Linked DNA regions of Homo sapiens: region 1 is linked to region 2. The links are contacts of gene promoters, found by promoter capture Hi-C in human tissues and cell types (Jung and others, 2019). All regions are on one chromosome and are shown on one strand. The core of a region is centred on a gene start or on the middle of the fragment in contact, and the rest is flanking DNA. Distances in the headings are between cores, read along the strand shown. Region 1 has its middle 61 kb from the start of GPR101. Region 2 holds the start of GPR101 (G protein-coupled receptor 101).

What was found. The method cuts DNA at HindIII sites, captures the fragments that hold promoters and counts their contacts. A contact is called where the count stands out against the background at its distance.
Region 1: a fragment that was not itself captured here is called in contact with the fragment with the promoter of GPR101 in region 2 in 1 of the 25 tissues and cell types used here (hippocampus).

Annotation. Positions count from the first base shown.
Region 1 is chrX:136,969,243-136,975,949 of GRCh38, reverse strand. It overlaps the pseudogene TM9SF5P. Among named protein-coding and RNA genes, the nearest start is that of GPR101, 61 kb to the left of the region's middle. The HindIII fragment of the contact is 3,984 bases long and covers 218-4,201 here.
Region 2 is chrX:137,030,528-137,037,772 of GRCh38, reverse strand. GPR101 (G protein-coupled receptor 101) reads left to right here and starts at 3,778. Exons shown (of 2, transcript NM_054021.2): 1 at 3,778-3,971; 2 at 6,007-7,245. The coding sequence starts at 6,099. RefSeq lists enhancers at 5,678-6,221, 6,222-6,766. The HindIII fragment of the contact is 13,638 bases long and covers 1-7,245 here.

The sequences.
Region 1 (6,707 bases), core at 960-3,459, 60 kb after region 2:
GAACTACCATAAAAGTATAAATGAGTATTTCAATGCCATAATCTTTCCTGTTGCCTGTGGAGTCTCTGCTGAGATGAATCAGGATTCGAGCTCTAGGATGAGACAGAAAATGAAAGCATGCTGTTTGCCAGGACACTGTGGATTTATATTGATGTGTATCTAGTTGATTTGGAACACTGGACTCTCATTTTATTCTTCTGGTTTTCTGTTTTTGTTTTATCTTTTGTAAAGGCAATGAGCTAGTCCCAGGAAGGATCCTTCAGTTACATACAATTTTGTTTAATGAAATGTCATGGCTCTGTTCATATTTTTCTCTTGTTCTTCCAATCGGTATATACAACTTTCAGAGCTCTTGTATTTGGAAGGCTGGAAGGGTCCAGACTTTGGAATAGTGTCTTGGTTTCACTGTTTTTGTTTTGATGTTTTTTCGTTTTTTTTTTTTAAACTAAAGCTATATAAAGCTTGTGGATTAAACAGAATAAATTTCTAAATTTTTTAAAAAACTAAAATAACACTTCACACCCACTAGGTGGCTATAATAAAAAAAAGAAAGAAATAAAAGAAAGGATAGTAACAAGTGTTGGTGAGGGTACGAAGAAACTGGAACCCTAATACATTACTGATAGGGATGTAAATGGTGCAGCCAGGTTTGAAAACAGGCTGACAGTTTCTCAAAATAATAAACATAAAGCTACCATATGACCCAGTGATTTCACTCATAGGTATACATACAGTAGAACTGAAAGCATATATTCACTCAAAACATTGTACAAAAATGTTTATAGGCTGGGCGCGGTGGCTCACTCCTGTAACACCAGCACTTTGAGAGGACAAGGTGGGCAGATCACAAGGTCAGGAGTTTGAGACCAGCCTGGCCAACACAGTGAACCCTGTCTCTACTAAAAATACAAAAATTAGCCAGACATGATGGCATGTGCCTATAGTCCCAGCTATTCAGGAGGCTGAGGCAGGAGAATCACTTGAACCCAGGAGGCAGAGGTTGCACCACAGCACTCCAGCCTAGGCAACAGAGCGAGATTCCGTCTCAAAAAAAAAAATGTTTATAGCAGTATAATTCAAAATATCCAAAAGGTAAAAATAGCCCAGATGTCCATCAAACAAAAGGTGGTACATCCAAACAAAGGAATATTATTCAATCATAAAAAGGAATGAAGTACTGATACATGCTACAATATGAATGAACTTTGAAAACATTACCTAAGTGAAAGAAGTCAGACACAAAATATCACATGCTTCATGATTCATTTATATTAAGTGCCCAGAATAGGCAAGTCCATAGAGATAGAAAATAGATTAGTAAATTCACAGCCAAGGGGATGGGAAAACGGGGAGTGTCTGCTAATAAGAACAGGGTTTCTTTTTTTATTTTTATTTAAAGTTCCAGGGTATATGTGCAGGTTTGTTACATAAGTAAACATGTGCCATGGTGGTTTGATGCACCTATCAGCCCATCACCTAGGTATTAAACCCAGCATGCATTAGCTATTTTTCCTAATGCTCTCCCTCCCCCAACCCCATCCCCCAACAGGCCCAAGTGTGTGTTGTTCCTTTTCCTGTGTCCATGTGTTCTCATGAACAGGGTTTCTTTTGAGGGTCATGAAATGTTCTGGAATTAGGATACTGGTGACAGTTTCATAACTTTGTGACTATACTGAAAACCAGTGAATTGTAGGCTTTTCAAGGGTGAATTTTATGGTATGTGAATGATATATAAATGTTTTAGAAGAATAAAGAGTAAGGGTAAAACTAAGAATGAATACGGTTTTTAGCCTACGTGACCAAAACAGTGGTGATAATATAAACAAAAACAAGAACTTCATGTGAGAGAACTTGTTTGACAAATAGAAATAAATAAATTCAGTTATAAAGACATAGTACTTGAAACTGATTATGAAAATGGATGCCATCACTCAAGGAGAGAGAATGCAGAAATCAAGAAAAAGAGGAAGAGGAGAGAGGAAGAAGGTGGAGGAAGAGAAGGAGAAAGAGAGGGAGAGGAAGGAAAGAAGAACCCACAGGTGAGGATATAACTAGGAAGAAGGTTCACATTTGATAGGAGGATGACAGAAGGGAGTTAAGAGAAGGAAAAAAGAGGTGAAAGAACTAGAAGCCTACAATGACAAGAATAGTGAAAGAGAAGAACTTTTCATAAAGATAAGTGTAGCTGGCCAGGCACGGTGGCTCACGCCTATAATCCCAGCACTTTGGGAAGCCGAGGCAGGCAGATCACCTGAGGTCAGGAGTTCAAGACCAGCCTGATCAACATGGTGAAACCTCATCTCTACTAAAAATACAAAATTAGCCGGGCGTGGTGGCGCATGCCTGTAATCCCAGCTACTCGGGAGACTGAGGCAGGAGAATCTCTTGAACCTGAGAGGCGGAGATTGCAGTGAACCAAAATCCCACCATTGCACTCCAGCCTGGGCAACAAGAGCAAAACTCCATCTCAAAAGAAAAAAAAATGAGTGTAACTAATAGTCTGTCAAGTGTTACAGACTGATCAAGGAGACTAGGAATGAATGCAATGAATTTGACAAGAAGAAAGGTCATCTGTCAACTTTCAGGAATGCTTTTCAAAAGAGAGATCCAAACTGCCAGTATTAAGAGGAATGGGTCATAAAAATAAAGAGAGATGATTAGAAAGGAAGAGATATGGGACAGGAACATGAAAGGATGTAGAAGGACAATAGCAAATAAACTGAAGTGCACAAAACCTGACACAAAAAGACACTTGTCCACGCATAATCTATAATTAATGTAAAATACAAACAACCTAAATTTTCTAACAATGCATAAAAAATAAATGATTGCACAAATATAGAAGCATTGTCTGGTATCATGATTAAGAGAATAGACACTCAAGCCAGACTGCTTAAATTTGAATTCTTATTTATTTATTTGAGACAAGGTCTCACTCTTACGCACAGGCTGGAGTGCAGTGGCGCAGTCTCAGCTCACTGCAACCTCCCCATCCTGTGCTCAAGCGACTGTCTTGCCTCAGCCTCTCAAGTAGCTGAGACTATAGGCGCATGCCACCACACTCGGCTAATTTTTTTGTATTTTTTGTAAAAACAGGGTTTTGCCACGTTGCCCAGGCTGGTTTGAAACTTCTGGGCTCAATCCCTGATCCACCCACCTCGGCCTACCAAACTGCTGGGATTACAGGTGTGAGCCACCACGCCCAGCCGAATCTGAATTCTGACTCTACCACTTACTAGCTGAATGACCATGGGCAAGTTACTATACTACTCTGTGCCTTATTTCCTCATCTGCAAAATGGGATAACAACAATAATATCTACCTCATAGTGTTGATGGGAAGATTAAATATGTTAGTATTTGCATAGCATTTGGAACAATATCTGACATATAGTTAAGTACTATATAAGGGTGAATTATTATCATCAATACAAGAGAATACCTGTGGTTGTTAAAAATGGCATCAGAGAATTTCCAATGATTACCTAAAATATTGAGACTTAACATTTAACGACACATTAAGTGAATAAAGCTGGAAAAAAATGTATACATTATGTGGCATCATAATTTACACGCACAGAAAAAAAGACTGGAAACATAACAGAAGGTCAACACCAGTTCAGTCAAAAAGATGGGACTGTAGGGGATTATTATTTTAATCTTTATGCTCTTTCTGCATCTCTAAATGTTCTATCACAACAATTTATTATTATAGGTGGAAAAAATAAACATGAAAATAGAGAATTCTAGGCTAACATGGCTGACTGAATACACATATCTTTAATCTTTCTTCTGAAACCACAGGAAAATTATAAAAAGTGTTTTTTTAAACAATCTTCAGACAGGGAGAACAGGAGAGCAGATAGCAGGAAACAATAAAAGGAAGCCAGAAACTATTGCAGGCAGTGGAGAAAGCTGAGAGCCAACCCAATTTATACTACAGAATCCACAAAAAGCTCAGAAACTGGCAGCAACAGGTAATCTGTGAGTTAAGTGTGGTGGGGTGACTAATGGAAGAGAATTTTGTGAAAGCTTTTTGAGAAGTAGATATATCCATCATCTCCCTCACTCTAACTATAGCATATATCTGGAGGTTTATTCTCCAGGTTGGAGAACATCAGACATGATTAAGGGCTTGGGTATATATGCAGCTACATGGCACATGTCAAGACACTTGGCTCCTTTCCCCTAGACACCTCCCAGAATGCTGACAGCCAGACATTAACCCTTCAGCCAGGAGATCAGAATTTCCAGGTTTTCTCTGGGAAAAGTTACTATCTCAAGGCTTAAACCCTAAAGATATTGACAGAAGAGGGTCCACTAAAAACAGTACACCTAGATCAGCAAACAGTGAAGCGCCAATTCTATAAGCTTCCCTACACACTCATAACATTCATTTAGTATTTTCATTTAGTATTTTATTCTCACACTTTTCATCATATGCGTACATATAACCAGCCATTGCCAGACCTTTGAGGAAATCCTGTAGCATGAAAGATAGAAATGAAAACAAAAAGGGAAAGTCAGTCTGAAGAAAATGATACTATTCATTGAGAAAAAATACTTATCATTAGTAACCCAAGAGAGGTATAATATGATACTACACTCATGGAACACTGACAAGATGCTTTTTTAAAGGAACATTAAGAAAACAAGGCCAGGCGCAGTGGCTCATGCCTGTAATCCCAGCACTTTGGGAGGCCGAGGTGGGCAGATCACTGGAGGCCAAGAGTTCGAGATCAGCCTGGGCAACATAGTGAGACCCTGTCTCTATTAAAAATACAAAAAACTTAGCCAGGCATGGTGGCACAAGCCTGTAATCCCAGCTACTCCGGAGACTGAGGCACAAGAATAGCTTCAACCTGGAAGGTGGAGGTTTCAGTGAGCACAAATCACAACACTGCACTCCAGCCTGGTTGATGGGGCCAGACTCTCAAAAAAAAAAAGAAAAAGAAGAAAGAAAGAAAGAGAGAGAGGAAGGAAGGAAGGAAGGAAGGAAGGAAGGAAGGAAGGAAGGAAGGAAGGAGGGAAGGAGGGAAGGAGGGAAGGAAGGAGATTAAAAAAGAGCTCTAGGGAGCTAAAATCTAATGGCAATAATGACAAAAATCAATATAAAAATTCAAAATCTATAAAGTAGAGCAGAAATACAGAGATAAAAATTACAAGAGGAAAAAAATGAGAAATTTAGAGGACAGGTCAGGTGTCCTCAACAAATACAGATGTTCCTTAATTTACAACTGTGTTACATCCCAGTAAACCCACTGTAAGTTGAAAATATCGTAAGTTGAAAATGCATCTAATACACCTAACCTATCAAACATCATAGCTTTGACTAGCATGGGCATTTTGTAGACATGATGGGATGCAAAAACAAAAAACACAACATCCAAAAATGTTAGCAACACAGTTCACTGTAGAGTGTCTGTTGCTTGCCCTCATGTTGTGTGGCAGACTGGAAGCCGCAGCTCGCTGCTATTGCCCAGCATTACAAGAGAATATCATACAGCTTATTGCTAGCCCAGGAAAAGATCAAAATTCAAAACTCAAAGTACAATTTCTACTGTAAGCATATTGCTTTCACAATTTCTACTGTAAGCATATTACTTTCACAGCATCATAATATCGAAAAATCATAAGTCAAACCATCATAAGTCAGGGACTATGTGCATTAGCAAACCGAATCTAGCCATATATAAAAAGAATAAAAACCATGACAAGGCTACTCAGAGCATTTTACTTGTATTTGTATTATATTACATACCTTCAAGTACCACTTCTTGTAATATTAACTTTAGAGTTTTCTTGAAAATTTAATGATAACAAGCATTGAAATTAATCCTGGGAAGGCACAACTGGTCAAAAATAGAAATCAAATCAATGTAATTCACCATATTAATAAACTAAAAAAAAGAAAACCATATGATCATCTCAATAAATGCAGAAAAAGCATCTGACAAAATCCAAAATCTATTACTGATAAAAAGTTCTCAGCAAAGGAAGAATAGAAAGAAACATCCTCAACCTGACAGAGTTCATATATGAAAAACCCTCAGCTAACATACTTAGTCGTAAAAGACTAGATGCTTTCCCTCTGAGATCAGGAACAAGGCAAAGATATCCATTCTTACCACTTTTCAATATAATACTGGAGGTCTACCCAGTGCTATATGGCAACATCAACAAAGGCATCCAGCTTGGAAAGGATGAAATACAACTGTCTCCATTCACAGCTGACATAATTACATACACAGAAAATCACAAAGACTCTACAATAAAGCTCCTAGAACAAATCAGTGAGTTTAGCAAGGTGAGAAGATACAAGGGCAATATGTTGAAATCAATTATATTTCTATATGCCTGCAATGAATAACTGGAATTCATTTTGTAAAATACCACTTATAGCACCAAAAAAACAAAAGAATGAAAAGGAAGAAAAAAATATGTGGGTATTAATCTAACAAAATATGTGCTGGAGCTACAAAACACTGATGAAAGACACTAAAGAGGACCTAATTAAATGGAGAGAAATACTGTACTCATTGATTGGAAGACTTCATATTATGAAGCTATCAATAGTCCACAAATTGATCTATAGATTCAATGCAATCATAATCAAAATCCCAGCAGAACTTTTTGTACATATTAATAAGCTGATGCTAAAATTTATATGGAAAGGAAAATAAACAAGAATAGCCAAAACAATCTTAA
Region 2 (7,245 bases), core at 2,529-5,028:
AGAAAGTAGATGGCATCAAAGGTCATAGACTGACAGGATCCTTAGAGACTACCTAACATCCAACCCCTAGCCCCACCACACACACACACATTCATTTGGTGGATTACAGAAGTGAGATCAGAGAGAGGAAGGGGATCTTCCCAAAGTTACATGCAAGTTAGCCACAGAATTAGGGCTAGAATTCAAGTCTTCTGCTCTCTAGTTTTAATCCATCAAGTTATTTTCTGCTGATTTTCTCTTCCAAATTAGTTTATTTGGATAGACATAGCTTTGAAATCCAGAACTTCTGTACTGCCCAAACCCACAGAATGTGCAATATTAGCTCACACCCAGGTGGTACTTGATTTTGTTTCAGTTTTGCAAACACAGCTTCTAGGAGTTGGCCTGAAGTGAATTCCAGAGTAACACATAACACTGAAAAATGTAAAACACCCCCATGGGTAGGCACTCCAGAACAAAACCATATATTTTTCCCCATCGACTTATTATGAACTCGCTAAGCAAAAAGGAGTGTGACTTAGAACTTAGATTGACTGATTTAGTCTTTTTACCACCTATGGGAACCATGTGTCTGTCCTACAAAAAGAAACCATTACCACTGCAAATGCACTTGTCTTTTCACAATTCTAGCAACTCCTAGTCCCCTTTCACCTAGATTCAAAAATTTTATCTGAGCTGGGTCTGGGAGCCCTTCTGTCTTGTCTCTGCACTCTTCCTTGATGTAGCCTAGGAAATGCCCCTGCTTTGGAGTTAGAGTAGGCTTTAACTCTCAGCTCCAAAACTTATTTGCTGTGTGACCTTGGATAAGTTACTTAACCCCTCTGTAAAGACAGGGATGATACTGTCTTACATTGATTCTAAAGCACATTTTTTTTCACATTCTAGCATCTTTGAAATCAAGATGTATCTTGTTAGCCATGGTATGATGGTTAAATGTTCAGCATTTTTCCATTTCCTAGTGGTATGTACTGTGTCATGCTTTCAGAAAATACGGTATTGTTTCCTAACTTGCAGAGCTTCCTCAAGGATTTAATACAAGACAGCAAGCATAAAGTAGGCACTCAAGGACTCTTGCACCGTTTATTACTAGAATGAATGACTAGAACTAATACTTGGCTGAGTCTTGGGTTTCCCAACTTCCCTCATCTAGCTATTGGTACAGCAATTGGGGCAATTAGTCTGACAAGGTGAACAAGCCTGAGGCCGGCACACTACTGACCAGTGTTGCAACGTGTGATTGTCAATGGGACCTTGGGCCCTTTCTTGTTGGTAGCTTCTTGCCCTCTAGTCCTGGTCCATTAATATCATCAGCTTGATCGTGCCTCTGCTGCTACTGAATTATGAAGGTAGGGAAAAGGACTAGGTGACTTCTTAAGCCATCATCCCAAAGTCTCCCTGTTTCATCCCAAAGACTCTCCCCAGAATGTAATGAGGCTTGTCAGTTGAAGGGCTCCTTCAAGGCTATCAGAATCAGAGCCTGCAGGGCTGGAAGCCAAATCCACATTCCCCAAAGCTCCACCACATACTTCCAGTTGGGGAACTGATATTTGGATGTCTTTGAAATCCAAGAATACCTACTCTGCTCACATCTGGAGGGAAAGAGAAGACACCGGAGGATTAACCACCCTCAAACATCTCCCTATACAGAAAAATAGCTGGTATTTATTTCCTAGCACTTCTCTGGCTTTTTTCCTATCTCCGGCTGGCAGGCTTGTCTCAGTTGCAGAGGCCTCATCCCACCCAACCCCTTCCACTCCCTATTATCCCCCTTCGTGCCCAAAAGTGCAGCTGCAGACTCCATGAGCCCATCCCTCTGAGGCACCAATCTTTAACATGTGTCTAGAGGGTCCCCTGCTGGAACCTAGCAGTCTCGGGCATGGTCACAACCACAATAAAAATAGGAAAGGTCAAGAAAGACTGGCCTTTGTCTCTGGCCACTTCTAGCAGCTTCACTGCCTCCCAAGTGATTGTAAAATCATTGAGTCTGAACAAACTACCGCTTGACAGTGCATGCCACCCAGGATTCTGTACCATGGCCAGCACGAAGCTAGGAATTAATAATAACTGTGAGTGATTATCACGGAAACTGTCTCTAGGAAAAATGACCAGGTTTTTACCATTCAACCTTGGGGAGATAAAATCAGGCATAGCAGAAAAAGGACAAATGATCTAAGAGCAAATGCAGGACTCCAGATCCAAAGAGCATTCTTGAGGCCCGATTATACACCTGTCTCATCTCCCTGTCTCAGAGGCAGGTGACGAGAAGGGGAGGAGGTATCTCCATCCAGCCCATCAACCAACTCCAAACCCTGTGCTCATTCTAGACCCTCCCCAACACCTCCTTGCCCTTATTCCCTGTCAATTTGCCTCTCTGTAGGTCTCTGCTTGCCCCGCTCTGTTGGACCTGTCAAGACCCTCTTTGTCTCCTGCCACAGCCTCCCTTCAGCTTTCTCCATCCAACACCAGCCCTGATTTTAGAATATCGCCCTACCTAAAACCCACCAATGAACAAGAATGGCAAATTATTTACCCTTGTGAAGGCTGGGTAATAGGAACATGGAGGATTATTTTATTATTCTCATTACGTTTGTGTATGCTTGAAGTCTTTCATAATAAAACGACTCTCCGACGACCTCCAGGGATCTCAGGGTAAAGTCCGAAGTCTGCAGACTGGCATTCAAGACCCCTCAGGATTTGTCTCTACCCAGTTTAACCAGCTAACCTCCTGGCACTCACCATGCTGCAGCCTGTTTTCCCAGCCTTTGGAACTCAAGTCTCTCTTGCAGCCCTAGTTTTACCCCATGCATCTTCTTTTTACAGAACACATTTCCCCTTGTGCCCTGCCTAGAAAACACCTCCTAATCCCTTGGAAATCTAATGCAAATGATCCCTGGTCTGGGTCACCTTCCCTACCTTCTGGGGGCAGGGAAGAGGGGGCCTCCTCAGTCCTGATATACAACAAATACCCAGTATGTGTTTAGGAGAGACCAGAATGTCTTGGCTAATAGAACGTGTGCAATATTTACTTGAACTTAGGCAAGTAGGGTAATCTTTCTTGGCTTCTGCTTCTGTCTCTATAAAATGAAGATAATAGCGGTACTTATCTCACAAGGCTGGGGTAAAGATTCAGCGGTATTCTCTGTGTAAACAGTTTAACACAGTACCTGGCAGAGAGAGGGGGAGAAAGAGGGAGAGAGGGAGAGATGCTGACTGACTTACAGACAGACATACTTCAATCAAAGAATATAGTGGGTAATTATGTGGCTTGTCTTAAATGAAATGCTTCCAAATCCCACAGGGAAAGCACTGCCGCTTAGCTCTTCCTGGGAGCTAGAGAAATTCGTGGAAAATCGTTGACATTAAAGTCACGATTCCTTTCTCGGGCTCAGGGGCTATTCATACTTTGGAGGGTTTTCAGAAGTCGAGGGGAGTCCCGGGCCCTCCTATTTGGAAGAATCGGAAGGATAGTGCAGGGTCTGTGCCTGGGAGCTGGCCCGAAATCAGGGGGCTAGGAAGGCACGGGGTTTGCACGAAAATCAGCCCCGGTGACAATCCCCAGTCTGTGAGCTCTCGGTGGACTCGGGGCCCCAGGGGTGGGAACCCGGAGTGAGAAAATCTGAGTGGGGTCTGGTGCACGGCCCCCCACCTGCCAGCCCCGCTCCCTGGGCTGCGGCGGCCTCGTGCGTCACGGGCGCAGGCGGGGGCCGAGGGGAGGGCGGCACCGCAAGGTGAGGGCACCGCGCTGCCTTAAGACGCCGCGCGCCCCCGCTGCCTCTCAGAGCTTGCAGCGCGGCGCGCTGGCCGGACGTGCGGGCACAGACGCTGTGCCCCGCTCCTGCCGCGCCCGCAGCGCCCGCTGCCCCGTGCCAGCTCGCAGCCGCCCGAGCCCCGAGAGGCGGCCGGGACGAGCGCGAGGAGCCCCGAAGGACCTGCACGCGGCGCCCGCGACGCCACGTCTGCAGCAGCAACAGGTAAGCAGCCCGGCCCTACTCCGGGCTCCGTGGCCCCCAGCACCCGGCAGGGCCCCGAGCCTGGGAGCCCACGACGCCCCCTCTGAAGCGTCCCGACGGCTGCTGAGCTACCAGGCGCGGTGGCCCGCGGTGCGGCCCCTTCTCGCCTTTCCCTAGCCATCCTCCCGCCCTCGCGTTTTCTCTCTCACTTTTTCTCGTGCGTTCTTTTCCCCCTTCCTCTCCATTCTCTCGTTTTTTCCTCATCCTTTCCCTCTTCCTCTGCTTGTTCTCTTTTCTTATTATTTTTTGCTTTTTCTGTCTGCGTCTCTCCCAGTCTGTCTTGCTCTCTCATTCTCTCTCACTCTCACGCTCCCATTTCTTCTTTTTTCTTTCTTTCTCCCTCTCTGTTGCTCACATTCTCTCTGTCTCTCTGTATGTATCTCATTCTTTCGCTGTCTCTCATTTCCTTTTTGTCTCTCTGCCTCTCAGTCTCTCTCGCCCTGCCTTTCTGACTCTCTCCACCACCCTGCACCCCTGCCTCTTTTGCCTTTCTCCCCAGCTCCTTTCCCACTCCCCTCGGCTGTCACCGACACCAAGCAGATCCGGAGAAAGCAAAGAGGATGCCAAATTGGGAATGGGGATGGGGCTGTGGAGGGTGAGGGTAGGGGAGCTCAATAGGCATCCTCTCTGCATTTTCCAGTCTCCATTGCACTGCTGATAAACTAAGGGTTTTTTAACCAAAGCCCGCGGTGGCCGGGGCGGCAGGTGGTTTCCACGGCAAAATAAAGTCCACAGGGAGACAGAGATCCAAAGAGACAGAGATCCAGCCAGAGAAAAACCAAGGTGAGGGGCCATGGGAAAAAGATGTAGAGAAATAGAGATGCGCACACACTCAAAGATACAAAGCAAGTGTTTAGCCAGAGTCCTGGGGTGACAGGAAAGTGAAGGACAGAGAAACCAACGAGAGAGTGCACACACTAAAGAGATAGCTTGAGAGACAGGTGAGACAAGCAGTAGAGTGTTAGAGATCAATGGAGAGAGAGGCAGAGTAATGCAGAGAGAACTTAGGCAGGGAGAGACAGAAACCACACGGAGAGACACAGAGACAAGAGGGTCCGAGAAAGACAGAGCAAGCGCACACGTGCCAGTGAGAGACAGAAGGAGACACCCAGAGAACCCGAGGGAGACGCAGAAACAAGAGAGTTGGAGAGACACGGAGACGGGCAGAGACACAGCGAACGACATTGAACAGGTGCGCTAGGGACCCACAAAGATGAACTGCTGGGGAAATAGACTGAGAGAGAAATGGAGAGACAAGAGAGCACTAGGGAAAGACGGAGACACACATGAACTAGCGAGCGACACAGTGACAGGCAGAGACACAGAGAGACAGAATGGATCAGAAAGAGACTGAGGGAGAGACGGGCAAGACTGTGAGAAAGATAGGGAGCGAGAGCGCAAGCCCTGCAGAGAAAGTGCGCTAGCGAAAGAGACACACACAGAGAGACTGAGTGACAAACAGAGTGGAAGAGATAAATGAGAGTAACAGGAAAGAGACAGCGTGCACGTGCTATCGAGAGACGGAGAAACAGAGACAGACATAAGTGAGAGACAAGGATGAGAAAGAATCAGGAAACGGTGAGACACATACAGACACACAACCCGAGAGATAAAGAAAAAAAGTGCGCTAGCGAGAGACACTGGAGAAGAGACAGAAACTGACGGTCGTAAACAGACAGAAACAGAGAGCGCACGCGCATGCGCTAGCGCTAGCGACCAAAACTCCCCGGAGCCAGAGACAGTGTGAGAGACAAGCAGAGAAAGCGCACGCACGCACGCGCCAGCAGGAGAAACAGATGAGAGGAAATCAGAGCCCTGGAGAGAGACAGGCAGACAGATCTGGAGAGTCCGGAAAGGAGCCATAGAAGCTGCCCGCACTGGGGATGGAGCCGTGCGGAAACCCGGGGTAGGGGGTCCTGCAGCGTCCTTGCTGGGCGCGGAGGCTTCTCCCCTTGACGGGTGACTAACTCTGCCTGCGTGTTTCTTTTGTCACCAGCATAGGCACTGAGTGCGGTCTGTGCACCCCTTTGCCACCCACCGGTGCCGGCACTGAGCCTGCAACCTGTCTCACGCCCTCTGGCTGTTGCCATGACGTCCACCTGCACCAACAGCACGCGCGAGAGTAACAGCAGCCACACGTGCATGCCCCTCTCCAAAATGCCCATCAGCCTGGCCCACGGCATCATCCGCTCAACCGTGCTGGTTATCTTCCTCGCCGCCTCTTTCGTCGGCAACATAGTGCTGGCGCTAGTGTTGCAGCGCAAGCCGCAGCTGCTGCAGGTGACCAACCGTTTTATCTTTAACCTCCTCGTCACCGACCTGCTGCAGATTTCGCTCGTGGCCCCCTGGGTGGTGGCCACCTCTGTGCCTCTCTTCTGGCCCCTCAACAGCCACTTCTGCACGGCCCTGGTTAGCCTCACCCACCTGTTCGCCTTCGCCAGCGTCAACACCATTGTCGTGGTGTCAGTGGATCGCTACTTGTCCATCATCCACCCTCTCTCCTACCCGTCCAAGATGACCCAGCGCCGCGGTTACCTGCTCCTCTATGGCACCTGGATTGTGGCCATCCTGCAGAGCACTCCTCCACTCTACGGCTGGGGCCAGGCTGCCTTTGATGAGCGCAATGCTCTCTGCTCCATGATCTGGGGGGCCAGCCCCAGCTACACTATTCTCAGCGTGGTGTCCTTCATCGTCATTCCACTGATTGTCATGATTGCCTGCTACTCCGTGGTGTTCTGTGCAGCCCGGAGGCAGCATGCTCTGCTGTACAATGTCAAGAGACACAGCTTGGAAGTGCGAGTCAAGGACTGTGTGGAGAATGAGGATGAAGAGGGAGCAGAGAAGAAGGAGGAGTTCCAGGATGAGAGTGAGTTTCGCCGCCAGCATGAAGGTGAGGTCAAGGCCAAGGAGGGCAGAATGGAAGCCAAGGACGGCAGCCTGAAGGCCAAGGAAGGAAGCACGGGGACCAGTGAGAGTAGTGTAGAGGCCAGGGGCAGCGAGGAGGTCAGAGAGAGCAGCACGGTGGCCAGCGACGGCAGCATGGAGGGTAAGGAAGGCAGCACCAAAGTTGAGGAGAACAGCATGAAGGCAGACAAGGGTCGCACAGAGGTCAACCAGTGCAGCATTGACTTGGGTGAAGATGACATGGAGTTTGGTGAAGACGACATCAATTTCAGTGAGGATGACGTCGAGGCAGTGAACATCCCGGAGAGCCTCCCACCCAGTCGTCGTAACA